3 separate regions of the Homo sapiens genome follow, and all the other regions are linked to region 1. Evidence: promoter capture Hi-C in human tissues and cell types (Jung and others, 2019). All regions are on one chromosome and are shown on one strand. The core of a region is centred on a gene start or on the middle of the fragment in contact, and the rest is flanking DNA. Distances in the headings are between cores, read along the strand shown.

Region 1 (4,462 bases), core at 593-3,092:
CCCCTGACGACCTCTGTGGAATGGATCCCAACATGGGTCTTTCCACAGCCAGCTTAGACGCTCTCCCCCCAGGCCACCTTTCTGGCCTCCCGAGGCAAGGGCTGGACACCCACAAAGGGTTGCTTTGCACTGATTGTCTTAAGCTACACTTAGAATGGCAGGAAGGCCCACTGCCTTGTGTCTAATGCCAGGACAGGGAAGACCACACCTTACCCAAAGAGGGAAATGCCCCAAGTACTTAGCAGGATGGAAAGCAGGCCAGACTCGAGGAAGGCACCGCAGGACTCCGAGGGCAGGGCTCCGAGCCGCGCACGCCTCAGGCACAGGGGGCTCTGACGACACTGAGTGGGCGTGGCCTGGAGGCAGAGGGCTGGACTCAAAGACCTCTGGATGTCCCCCCACCCCCACACGGGCCTGAGCCCCTCCAAGGCCTGCTGCTGACAGAGTCAGACAGCTGTCCAGAGCCATGTGTAAAAATACATCTGTGCTCACACAGGGTGGTGTACGTCTGCACAGAAACGTATACACCAGGCCAGCACAGGGCTGCCTGTGGGGGCGGAGGGACCCCGACTTCCCACAGCCTCCGTACCTGCCGCCTGCCTTTACCATAAGCACATATTCTTGCTACTATTATTAAGTCACAACTTAAAAAAAAATACTCTGTTTTCGAAAGGGCTCCTCCATCTGCCTCCAGAACCCTGGTGTATGAGAAGTCTACACAGCTCCCGGGAGAGGCAACCGGACCCCCACCAACGGACTCCGTCCGCCCTTCGCTCGGATGAGGGACTCAAAGCAGTCAAGAAGTGGCCACCTGGAGCAAGGCCGAGAGACCCAGGAGTGAATGTGGGGCGGCCTCTGGCTGCAGAGCAGGGGCCCAAGCTCACCCGCTGACCAAGGCAGCACTCAGAGGCCGTCCCGACAGGACCAAGCTCGCTAGCGCCCCAGGATACTCAATCTAAGGGGCAAGCCCCAGCTGCCCTCCAAGCCTTGGCCTCTGGGATGGGCGGGCAGGACCTCCAGGGCCCACCCAAGACAGGAAGCAGTTCCGGGGCCCAGGAGGGTCACAGTCCTTTGTGGCTAGCCTGGGTACCCCGCCACCACGTACAACTTTTCGTCCGTGGGAAACGAAGTCTCCTTCCGGGGCCCTCCCACAAACTTGAAGGCCGGCCGCGGCGAGTCTTTCTCCAACCCCGGGGCACCTCCGCCGGCTGCCTCGCTGGCCCAGCGCCCGGGGAGCCCCACGGCCCGCAGGGGCACCCCGAGCCCCAGCTCCAGGCCCGGCGGCGTCCCTTCTCTCGGGTCCCGGCCTCGCCCGGCGGAGCGGCCTCCCCAAGGTCATGAGGGAGGCTGGGGCCGGCAGCCTGCACCCCCGGCGCCCGGCGTGGGGCCGCCCTCCCTTGGCCGGGCCCGCGCGCCCCGCGCCCTCCCCGCCCAGGCCCGCTCGGCCACTTCCTGCTCCCGCTCCTCCATTCTGGCGGCGCCGCGGCTCGCGCCCCGGCCCGACCGGCCGCGAACAAAGCGGCCCGGCCCGCGGGGAGGAAATCCAGGCCCGGGCGGCCACGGCGGGCGGGGACTCACCGGGCCGCCGCGTCCGGGCGCGAGCGCGGGCCTAGCCGGGCCGCGGCCTCCGGCGCCCGCCGCTCCGCATCCCCGCGGGCCGGCGCTGGGCGGGGCCGGGCTGGAGGCCGCGGCGGGCGGGGGCGCTGCTCGGGGCCGGGCCTCGCGTGCCGCCGCCGCTCGGTGCCCGGTGCCCAGCGCTCGGTGCTCGGCCGCCTGCTCCCGTCTTCGGGCCGCGCTGCGTGCGCTGGGCCAGCCGCCTGCCGCGCTCGGTCCTGCCGCCGCCGCCGGCCCGCCCTCTCCCCGCCCCGCGCCCGCCCCGCGCCCGGAGCCGCCCGCCCACATCCGCCTCCGCCGCCCGGGGCGTCCCCACCGCGCGGCCGGCGGCGAGGGCGGAGCGCGCTCGGGGAGCGCGCGGCCGGGCTGAGGGGCAGCTCCCGACGACCTGGGGCCTGGGCTGGGCCGCTAACGGAGCCCGGCCACCAGCCAGCCCGTCCCGGGGCCACGCCCTCTCTGGCCTCAGTTTCCCCGTCTGTAAAGTGACCCGGCGCTTCTGGGCTCGCTCTGCCGTGACCCTAGCAGAAGGGGCCCGAGACAGGTCAGGGACGAATCCCGGACTTCTGCCTCCGCGCGCGGGGCGGGGGTGGCTTAGGTTGACTTTCAGGCTGCCCCACTCTGGGGGGCGTGGAGGGGGCGGCCAAGAGTGACCTAAAAGGCCCAATCCCAAGACCTTGTGCCTCTGGGGGAAGTGCGGGAGGATGCCAGGACAGGAGGTCAGTTGGAGGTGGGCCTCCAAGGAGCAGGAAGGCTCCGAGGGGAGTCAACCATTCACCTAGGTACTGGCAGCTACACTCACAAAAGGGGGACTTTGCTGGGGAGTGGGAGAAGAGGGGCACACCTTGCCTGGCTCCCACCTTGAGCTGGGAGCAGACACCAGACAGAGGAGGAGCGGTGTCTAGGGTGGGCTGTGACAGCTGACAGCCCAGAGCCCTCCCTGCTGGGTGGACTTGGTCAGCCCGGACACCCAGTCCGAAGTCCACTGGGAGGCAGATGGCCCGGGTATGGAATGAGTAAGTGGGACACAGACCCCTTTCTCCTGGACACTCACAGGAGAGTGCAGGTGACTGCCACCCCGACCCCTTCCTAGCCAGAAGTTCCTCCGACAACTGCCCCTCCCCCATTCCAGAGGCCCACAGTTGATAATAACCCTTTTGTGAAAGACAGACTCTTGTGAGTTACCTTCCTGAGGCTGCTAAGTATTGGGGTTGGGGGAGCATTTTTATTTTCAGCCAGAGTGAGTTCAGCTGGCAGCAGGGGAGGGGGTGGGAGGAGATGCAGACAGAGGCAGCAGGTTCGGCCCAGTGCTCAGGACAGAGTCTGCAGCCAAAACTCGGGCTTCATCCCTGCCTCTTGGGGCTGACCAAGAGAAGGACTCTCTCCCCCTGCATGAGGGCACTCGCTCCTCAGACAGGGGACTCCCCATTCCTGCCTCTCGCCTGAGCACCTCTGCTCCCTCCCAGCTCAGACTTTGTAACCCCAGGAAGGGCCCACCTCCAGGGGGCCAAGTCAGAGGCCCAGTGGTCTGCGCCGCTTGGGTGGGATACCTGACACAAGGGTTGCCCCCAGAGCCTGGGCGTCTGGTGTCTGTCTCTCACCCAGCAAACCTGCACCATGAGCCACCTGGGGCTCCCTCTGGGACTGTCCCACCTGCCCACTGCTCCCCGAGGAAGAGTTCCTGGTATCTGTCCACCATCCTGGGCTCTGCCATGCAAGGATGGAGGAAGGAATTCAGGGAGGAAGCAGAGGGTAAGAGGGCCATGAGACAAGGCCAGCAAGTGGCCGAGGCTTGGGGATGTGGGAGGGAGCAGGGCACCCTCTCATGGAAGAGGCAGTGACATTGCGGGCTGTTCTTGAAGTGGTTGGACCTCTTGCTTATTTTGCACTGGCTGTCTCCAAGGAGGCCTCCCAGTCTTCCCAGCCTGGTGCCCTGGCATCTGCTGGTGCCTGCAACCCACTGTGGGCCCCACACTCCAGTCCTGTCTTCACCTTGGCATGAACTGCCCTCCCCCAAGACGGGGATCTCCCAGTGGGCAGGGCCATCTCCCTCTCCTCCAGCGTCCCAGAGGGAAAGCAGAGTCCTCTCTTCAAGAACACCCCCTCCCACCCCAGACAGAATGGTCAGGAGAGAACCCAGCCCCACGGCTGCTGCTGGGACTGCTGAGGTGCTCTGTGGCCAGATGTTTCCGACAAAAACTGCTGCACCAGGGAAGGGCCCGACGGCTGCCTCCTCCCAGAGCTCAGGGGCCTCCTGCCCTGTCACCTTCTGCAGCTGCTGGCCGGGGGCAGGACTCGAGGGCCCTGGGCTGTGTAGGTCCCAGCAGCAGCTGCAGGGCGGGGCCTCAGGGCAGCTCCCAGGCCAGATGGCCGCCTGAGTCTGCAGAGGTTCTGCCTGAACCACCACCGCCGCGACAGTGGCTGTGTGACGGTGTCCTGTCATTCCTGCACTTGAGACCCAGCCAGTCACAGGGGCTCTGAGGACTACAGGCTGGCCAGGATCCCAGCACCAACTCTGGGCGGTCTCTGCCTGGAACAGCCCCCCTTCCCTGATCGGTGTGGGGCAGGAGGGACTTGAACCCAGACATCCCGACCTGAGAGGGATAAGGAGCTTCTCTCCCACTGTCCCCTCCCCTTCATCTAGCCCATTCCTAGCTGGGCCCTCCTTCCAGGTCCTACCCTAGGCTCCTGAAGGCAGCATCCTGACCCTCCCTGTGTACCACAACCCCCATTAAGTGTCCAGGCTCTCTCTGTCCCGCCAGCCAGGCAGGGCAGGCTAGGGTGCTTGCTCCCAGCCTGCAGTGGGGAGCTGTCAGCCTGTTGCCCAGAGCCCCAGTGTGGCAGGCCACCC
Region 2 (3,663 bases), core at 368-2,867, 880 kb before region 1:
TAAAGCAGAGATGGGGTTTTACCACATTGGTCAGGCTGGTCTCAAACTCCTGACCTCAAGTGATCTGCCCACCTTGGCCTCCCAAAGTGCTAGGATTACGGTGTGAGCCACAGGGCCCGGCCTGGGACTCATGCTTTCCACAGCTCTTCCAACTCAACCCATCCCCAGGGCCCCCTCCTCCCACCTTTGGCCATCCTAGCCACTTCTCCTTCCTTACATCACAGAGCTCATCCAGCACCTCTCCCACCCTGATGCCATGCCCTGAACTGCACATGACTCTAATGTCTAAATCGAAAAATTAGTATCTTCTCATCGTCATGTAATGAATGTCGCATTCGAAGCTGAAAAAGAATATGGCCAGGGCATGGTGATTTCCTTGTGAAACTAATGCCAGGCTCAGCACACTCTGATCAGCTGTATCTCCATCTTGAAGTCTATTGCTAAATACAAAACAGATGACATAAGACAACGAGGTCACTTCATAATAACTGCCAATTAAGATAGAACTTATTTAATCAATAAAGGTAGTTACTTAATGAATTACTGAATTTGATTGGGAAAAGCCATTAAATTCCAAACTTACAGTTTGCTTGTATGTGCAGGTCTCAAAATAATGCTTTTTGTTACTTTTACAATTTACTCTCTACTATAGACCGCAAATTAGATGCCCTCATTTTCATTTTAATATGCTTTTTAACATCTGAAGTGGTCCATTAAACTACAGTCAAATAGCTGTCAGGAGTGACTAGATCTAAGCACTTCTCATTTCACTTGGAAACTGCTTTGGTTGGGTGTGGTGGCTCATGCCTGTAATCCCAGCGCTTTGGGAGGCTGATGTGGGAGGGTCACTTGAGTCCAGGAGCTCGAGACTAATTTGGGTAACATAGGGAGACCCCGTCTCTACAAAACATAAAAAATTAACCAGGTGTGGTGGTGCTTGCCTGGCTAATTTTTTATGTTAGTCACAGCTATTGGAAGACTGAGGTGGGAAGACTGCTTGAGCTTGGGTGGTTGAAGATGCAGTAAGCCATGATCACACCACTGCACTGCAGCCTGGGTGACAAAGTGAGACTCTGTCTCAAAAAAGAAAGAAAGAACTGCGCGTTGGCTGCGGCTGTAATGCTGCCTCCACCCCTCCCTCCCTCCACCCACTCACTGCTCCTTTCACATCACTGCTCAGGATCCAAAGAATCCGAATGCTCGGCAGTGTGCTCCCTTTCCCACACTGCGCAGCTGTGTGTGTCAGCTTTACCGCACTGAATCCTTCACAAGCCCAACCTAGTCAAAGGTCAAATGGCGGCCCTCAAATCACTGAAACCCGGATCGTGTGGTCATTTATTCACTTGGCAAATGTGCACTGAGCATGTACTAGGTGCCAGACATTGTTTTAGGAGCTGAGAAACAATAAAGGGTCAGGATATCTGGGAGAGGAATCCTCGGCATTGGCAGAGACTCCGAGGTCAGAATGAACTCGGAGAGCTGGAAGGAATAGGGAGGCCACAGTGCCAGATTCAAATCCTGGCTGTCACTTACTAGCTAACTTAAACCGCTTAAGTTTTCTCATCTGTAAAACAGGGATAAAAACAGGATCCACCTCAAGGGGTTGTTATGGAGAATAACATAGAATAACTCTATGTCAAATGTTGAGTGTCTGGTACTGTATATTAAATGCTTGTTACATAAAATACCATGGCTGGACTATGGGAAGGAAGATGGGCCATGTCATTTAAGGGCCTTGGAGGCTAGCATAGAATTTAGCTTTTATTCTAAAACTGTTCTCTAAATTTAACAACTTTTTTTTTTTTTGCTTTAGGGTTTTTTTGTTTCCCGTTTTGACAATATGAAGAAAATTCAGTTTAGAATCTGGAACTGGCCTGGATGGGATTCGAGGGCAGCTGGTGGGGGCTGCAGAGCCCCTTCGATTCCTCCCCCACCGTGGGAGCTAAGCTACTGGACAGAGGAGCACCAACAGGGCACCGAACCAGGAACTAAGTTAGTGTCTTGAGTCAGGCAAGAATGGGGAGGCCAGGCCGGAGCTACAGCAGGGACTGCCCTGATTGTGGTTAGTTCTGTCTCTAGCCCTTTAACAGCATTTTAAAAGTGCTTTTCGTACTTACTTCCTACACTGCTTCCCACTCCTATAAAGTGGGTACTTGGAGAAAGCTCCTATAAAGCGGGTACTCGGATCCCGCAGCAGGTTAGCAGGACTGCACTCACACCAAATCTGTACGTCATGCTCCTGATGACGAGAACCTACCTCCAACACCTGCTTTCCTGCTCTTCCCTATGAGAGGACTTATTTAGGCAAGGATGGTCGTGAGGGTGGCCTGAGGTCTGACCTTGCAGGATGCGACTGTGTCCTTCTCCTGGAACACCTTGCAGATAGTCCGCCCTCAAATTTCCTGTCCTCAAGCTACTCGAATGCTCTGACAGTGTGAGGTTCCAAGAAACGAACAGCCCTGCTTTGGGAATATGTCACAGATGATCCAAACAAGACCCAGAGGAGGTTTCTGGAAGCCCCAGACTAGGAGTTCAGAGGCATGGAGTGAATCCCTTGTCTCTCAGCAACGACTGGGAAGGAAGCATTCTACAGGACCGATGGGTTTGGAAGCCTGGGAATCCTGGGCTCCAACACCAGCTCTGCCTGGTCAGCTCTCAACTGTGGGCAAGTCCCTTTAGCTGTTGTTTCAGAGGTTTTTTTTTTTCTCTTTTTTGAGACGGAGTCTCGCTCTGTCACCCAGGCTGGAGTGCAGTGGCGGATCTCGGCTCATTGCAAGCTCCGCCTCCCGGGTTCACACCATTCTCCTGCCTCAGCCTCCCGAGTAGCTGGGACTACAGGTGCCCGCCACCACGCCTGGCTAATTTTTTGTATTTTTAGTAGAGACTTGGTTTCACTGTGTTAGTCAGGATGGTCTCGATCTCCTGACCTTGTGTTCTGCCCGCCTCGGCCTCCCAAAGTGCAGGGATTACAGGCGTGGGCCACCAGGCTCAACCCAGAGGTTTCTTTTTCTGTGAAACAGGGATACCTCCACCTGCCCCCAGAGGGCTGTCAATGCAATTCAAAGAGGAAACCAAGGCCGGGAGCGGTAGCTCACGCCTGTAATTCCAGCACTTTGGGGGTCCAAGGCAGGGAGATCAAGAGGTCAGGAGATCAAGACCATCCTGGCTAACACGGTGAAACCCCGTCTCTACTAAAAATACAAAAAATTAGCCGGGCGTGGTGGCGGGCGCCTGTAGTCCCAGCTACTCGGAAGGCCGAGGCAGGAGAATGGCGTGAACCCGGGAGGCGGAGCTTGCAGTGAGCCAAGATTGCACCACTGCACTCCAGCCTGGGTGACAGAGCGAGACTCCATCTCAAAAACAAAAACAAAGGAGAAACCTAAAGGACCCAGCCTAGTGCCTAGTGCCTGGTACGGAATAAAAATCCAGAGAATGGACTGGGCACGGTGGCTTACGCCTATAATCCCAGCATCTCGGGAGGCCAAGGTGGGCGGATCACTTAAGGTCAGTAGTTTGAGACCAGCCTGGCTAACATGGCGAAACCATCTCTACTAAAAATACAAAAACTAGCTGGGCATGGTGGTGGGCGCCTGTAATCCCAGCTACTCGGGAGGCTGAGGCAGGAGAATCGCTTGAACCCGGGAGGCGGAGCTTGCAGTGAGC
Region 3 (4,462 bases), core at 550-3,049, 620 kb after region 1:
GAGAAGGAGCAAAGGCTGGTGTCTTCAGGAGGCTCCTCTCCAGGCTGGGGCCAGGGAAGAGTGTGCATGTCACTGTCAGGATGTGTCCCAGTGGTGTGGCTGGGTTCTCAGGGTGAAGCTCGTCCATTTCTGGGATGGCAGCGGAAGCAGGCACTACACACGCAGCTTCAGGGGGCTCTCCCCATGCTTCCTAGCTGCCTGGCACTTTCTGGTGTTTCTGGCTAACTTTCTGGCCATGCCAGGAGTTGGTGGAAGGAGATCTCAGGCTGCAGCTTTGCTTTCCTGCTGAGGAGACAGAGGTAGGCTGGGGCTGTAGGACAGGGGAGGCCAGCAGCCCCACCTTCCTTCTGGAGAGACGCTGCCTGTCTGTCATTGCCCCTCTCCTGCACCTGGCCGCTGGCTGGCTGCTCTTCCCTCCCAATCACCAGCAAGCCAGCTCCTGTTCCCTGCAGCCCAGCCCGCAGGATGTGTCCTGGGACCCATAGCCCTCTCTCCCCAGAGACAGCACCGCCCTGCAGCTCGGGTTCCTGGCCCTGTGCTAACCCTGGTGGGGCTTTCCTTACTGGTCTGCTCTGCAGCCATGACATTGTGGCCACCGCTCTCCTTGGGACCCCCACCTGGCTTTCCTCCCAGCACATGCTGTTTCCTACCCACCTGGATGGTGTCCTGTGTGCTGGATTCCCCATGCTGTGTCCCCAGCATCCTGACCATGTCTGTCCCGCCTGCCTAGATCTTGCACCGTGGCCACGGGGCTCCCTCCTGATAGCCCTGAACGCTCCGCTCCATGTCCTACAGAGAGGGATGTCCCAAGTAGATGTCAGCTCCCTCCAGCATCTGAGCAGGCAGGACAGAGACCCACGGTGCTGCTCACATCAGCAGCCTGGAACCCCGAGACAGCTCCTTTTGCTCACCTCCCCCAACACTGATGTTGCACCTGTCTCCAAGCCACTCTGGGACCATCTGTTTCTCTCCATCTGGGAAGCCCCCTTCGCACCTCATGCTCTTCCTGGCTGGGGCGTCTGGGTCACTCACTGGACTCTCCTCTCCTTAGACCTGTGCACAAGCACACACGGGAAGGCATCCTGACAGGTGGTGGGAAGAGAAGGCAGCTGCCTCACTGCGGAAAGAGCACGGCCGCTCCTGGACTCCAGCCCTGTTGGGGCTGGCGGGGTCAGCAGGCGCTGGGTTCCAGCCTCAGGTGGGGTCTTTGGAGGTGGCCTCTGGGCACAGGCACCTCCTCTGCGGCCTTCTCACCAGGTCACGGTTCAGGGAGGCTTTGCCGGCTACGGAGCCTGCCCACACCAAGGCGCGCACGACCACCTGTCCAGAGATGCCACGCGGGCTGGGCGGCGAAGGCCAAGGACACGCCCTGCCTGGTGTCGGGGGCAAAGGTTAGGCCTGGAAGGGAGGTGTGGGGTGGGGACCCCGAGGCCAGGGCTGGGCCGCTGAGCTTCAGGGCCCTTGGGGGGCTCAGGGAGGAATGCCGGAGGACCCCAGCATCAGGAGGAACCCCTGGAGAGCTACGGCAGGACTCACCTGTGGGGCACAGGGAGGGATCACCAGGGAAATGGCCCTTGTGGAGGATCTCCCCTCTACCCCCAGGGCACCAGGGGAGGATCTACCAGGGGGTTCTGGTGGAAGGGCCCACCCGGGAAGCGGCGCGCGGGGAGGACTCGGGGGCGCCGAGAGGAACTGTCCGGGAAGGGGCGCGCGGGCCGCGGGCGGCGCGGGGTCGGTAACGGCCCGTGCGGTGGGCGGCGGCGCCCGAGGCCCCTCCCCGCCGCCCGCGGCCGCTCCTCCTCTTCCTCTCCCGCCCGCGCCGCGGCCCTCCCGTCCCTGCGCGGCCTCGGCGGCCTCGGCGGCGGCGGCGGCGGCGGCGGCGGCAGCAGCGCGGCCCCTTTAAACGCCTGCGGCGCCCCCCGCCCCCGCCATCGCGCCTCCATTTTCCCGGCCGCCCGCGCCGAGCGCCGCGCCCGCCCCGGGCCCCTCCGCCGCCGCCGGCCCGGACATGGCCGCCAACATGTACAGGGTCGGAGGTAAGGCCGCACCGCCTTTATGCCCGGCCCCGACCCGCCCGCAGCCCCCACCCGCCGCCGCTGCCGCCTCCCCCGCCCCTCTGCCCCGCAGGCCCCGCGCCCCCCGCCCGCCCTCGCGGCCCCCGGCTCCTTCCCGAACCGCCCCCCGCCGTGCTCACCCCAACCCAAAATGGCCCCGCGGGTCGGCCCCATCGGGGGCGGGCGGGGCTCGGCGGCCCGGGGGTGGGGGGCGGCCCACCTGTTGGGGCCGAGGGGGCGGCCGCGGGGGTGGCGGGGGGGCGCGGGGCCTGCGGGACATCCGGGGGTCCGGGGCCGGGAGCCCCCAGCGGGAGCACGTGGCCTTGGGAGGCGCCGGCTGCCGGTCTGGGAGCAGGAGTTTTGGGGCTGTGGGGTCTCCCCCGGCCCGCGGCCCTGTGCTGGGACTCCGGTGCATCCCCTCTGGGGATGGGGAGCCCCGGTGAGGGGCCACGTTCCTCCCTAGAGCCCTCCTGCAGCCTGGCCCCGGGGCTTCCCCCAGCAGGGATCCCTCAGGGGGTCTTCAGCAGGGAGCGAGCATCCCGAGCACGCCTCTAAGTCCCCCCAAACTTTTCCCTGCCTCTCGCTCACCTCAGCCCATTCGGGAGGCGCTTTGCAAGGGTTGGGGAGAGGCCGGAGGGCCTCCTGGGCAGGGGCTTCCTCCGTGGGCCCAGCCTCCTGTTGCTCGGGCCCCCCGGGCCTGCAGCTTTGAGCCTTGCCCTCCTTCGTGTGCCTGGGACTCCGTGGGGTCTTTCACAGGAAGGTGGGGGGTCGTGTGCATTCCATCATTCCATCAGCGCCTCCCTCCCCAGGACTCTGAGACCCCTCCCTGCCTGTGACCCTCTCGGGCAGGTGCTCATTACCTTTCCCACCTGCAGCCTGCGCTGCTGGAGGGAGCTGGGGTCACTCCCGCTCTGGCTTGATCCCCATGCCCCTGACCCCGAGTGCCCAGAACACTCTGTGTCTCTCGAGCGTGGCTTCTGCTGCCTTGGACGCCGTGTGGTCTGGCCGGCCAGTCCTGTGACCTTGGGGACGGTGGGAGCCCCCTACATCCCGTCTGTGAGATGGGCGGTCAGTCCGCATCAGCAGCTCTGGGCCTCCCCTGTCCTCTCAGAGGGGCGGTGGGCCTGTACCCCATCCAGCGGCAGCCCCTCCCACAGCCTCATACAGCTTTGCCAGGTCCCTGTGTGGACCCAGGTGCGCTGAGCCCACCCCACGCTCAGGGAGCAGCCTGGGTGCGGGGTCCCTCGAGGGAGGGGCCTGTTCCTTCCTGTTCTTTCTCCCCACCTGGAGACCCCCCTTCCAGCCTGACATGAGGGCCCAGTTTCTCACCCTGGCAGAGAGGATGCCTGCTGCCTGGGCTCCAGCCGGGCCCACTGCGCATGGTTTTGGGATTGGTCCCAAGAAGAGCTCTCCCTGCCCCCACCCATGTTGGGGGTGGGGAGTGGTGGCAGCTTTGGGCTCTAGGGCTGGGGACACCCCGACCCCAACTCATGCCTTCCTAGTGGCTGCATTGCTCGGCCTTCAGGCCTGCCTGCCTGTGATCTTGGCGCCAGCCTGGCTGCCCCCCCTCCAACCTTCCCATGCCTCGGTTTCCCCATGGTGTGGGTGAGGACCTCGTCTCTCAGCCGTCCTTTTGTGCCCTGTGGCAGCTGTGCTGTGGCTGATGAAAGCCAGGACCCTGCCTTGTCCCATCCCGGAGGTGCAGCTCCCCTGGGCCCCACACAGGCTTGGGAGGAGCCCTTCGTGGGGCTGCGCCGCCCTCCCCGAACCCTCTGTCCCCCTGTGCCCGCAGGCCCGTCCCAGGGCCTCACTGACCCACGCACTCCAGTGCTGTGAGGGTGGGTGGCCTGGACTCCTAGGCTGTGGCGGAGGGGCCCCACCATGCCTGGCAGAGATGCTGCTGGTCTCTTTTCCTGTGATGAGGAGCATGGGAGGTTGGGTGCTGTCTGCTGGCAGCACAGCCACGCGTGGGATCCAGACTGCTTCTGCGTGTGCAGTCCGTGGTCACTGTGGCCGGGTGTGCTCGGAGCTGTCAGGCCCCCCACGTGCCCGCCCCGAGGACTTCCTCTCCCTGCAGGTGAGACTGTAGGCCTCCCCCTCTCTACTCTGACTGTCCCTATAGGAGAAGCGGCATTTATCCCTGGCTTCTGGACCGGAACCCTGGGTTCCGGCAGGACCCCGGCAGAGCCCTGTGGTCGCAGTGGGCTGGGCATTGCAGGTTGGCTTCCTGTCTTGGTGCTCGCTCGGGGAGGTGGGCGTCTGGATTCTTGAGCCCCCAGACAAGAAAGAGGAAGGTGTGCAGTGTCTCCTGAGCAGCCTTTGTCCGTCTGTCGCCGGCTGCCTGGCACGGGCTCCATCTGGGTGGCCAGTCCTGGCCTGTGGGAGATGCCGGCAGGGACCCAGCCTGG

What was found. Contacts are between HindIII fragments. The study calls those that stand out against the background at their distance.
Region 2: a fragment that was not itself captured here is called in contact with the fragment with the promoter of AKT1 in region 1 in 1 of the 25 tissues and cell types used here (dorsolateral prefrontal cortex).
Region 3: a contact is called between the fragment with the promoter of MTA1 here and the fragment with the promoter of AKT1 in region 1, in 1 of the 25 tissues and cell types used here (spleen).

What each region holds. Positions count from the first base shown.
Region 1 is chr14:104,793,906-104,798,367 of GRCh38, forward strand. It overlaps AKT1 (AKT serine/threonine kinase 1), which reads right to left and starts at 1,843. Exons shown (of 15, transcript NM_001382430.1): 1 at 1,579-1,843. RefSeq lists enhancers at 1-308, 309-950, 2,992-3,764, 3,765-4,462 and silencers at 1,215-1,534, 1,565-1,614, 1,795-2,154. The HindIII fragment of the contact is 31,557 bases long and covers 1-4,462 here.
Region 2 is chr14:103,915,666-103,919,328 of GRCh38, forward strand. All of the region lies in intron 1 of ATP5MJ (ATP synthase membrane subunit j), which reads right to left. Among named protein-coding and RNA genes, the nearest start is that of ATP5MJ, 4.0 kb to the right of the region's middle. The HindIII fragment of the contact is 7,772 bases long and covers 1-3,663 here.
Region 3 is chr14:105,418,028-105,422,489 of GRCh38, forward strand. It overlaps MTA1 (metastasis associated 1), which reads left to right and starts at 1,800. Exons shown (of 21, transcript NM_004689.4): 1 at 1,800-2,036. The coding sequence starts at 2,009. It overlaps MTA1-DT (MTA1 divergent transcript), which reads right to left and starts at 1,712. Exons shown (of 2, transcript NR_125385.1): 1 at 995-1,712; 2 at 1-282. RefSeq lists enhancers at 1-666, 3,345-4,012, 4,013-4,462 and silencers at 1,364-1,463, 1,494-1,543, 1,634-1,893. The HindIII fragment of the contact is 32,458 bases long and covers 1-4,462 here.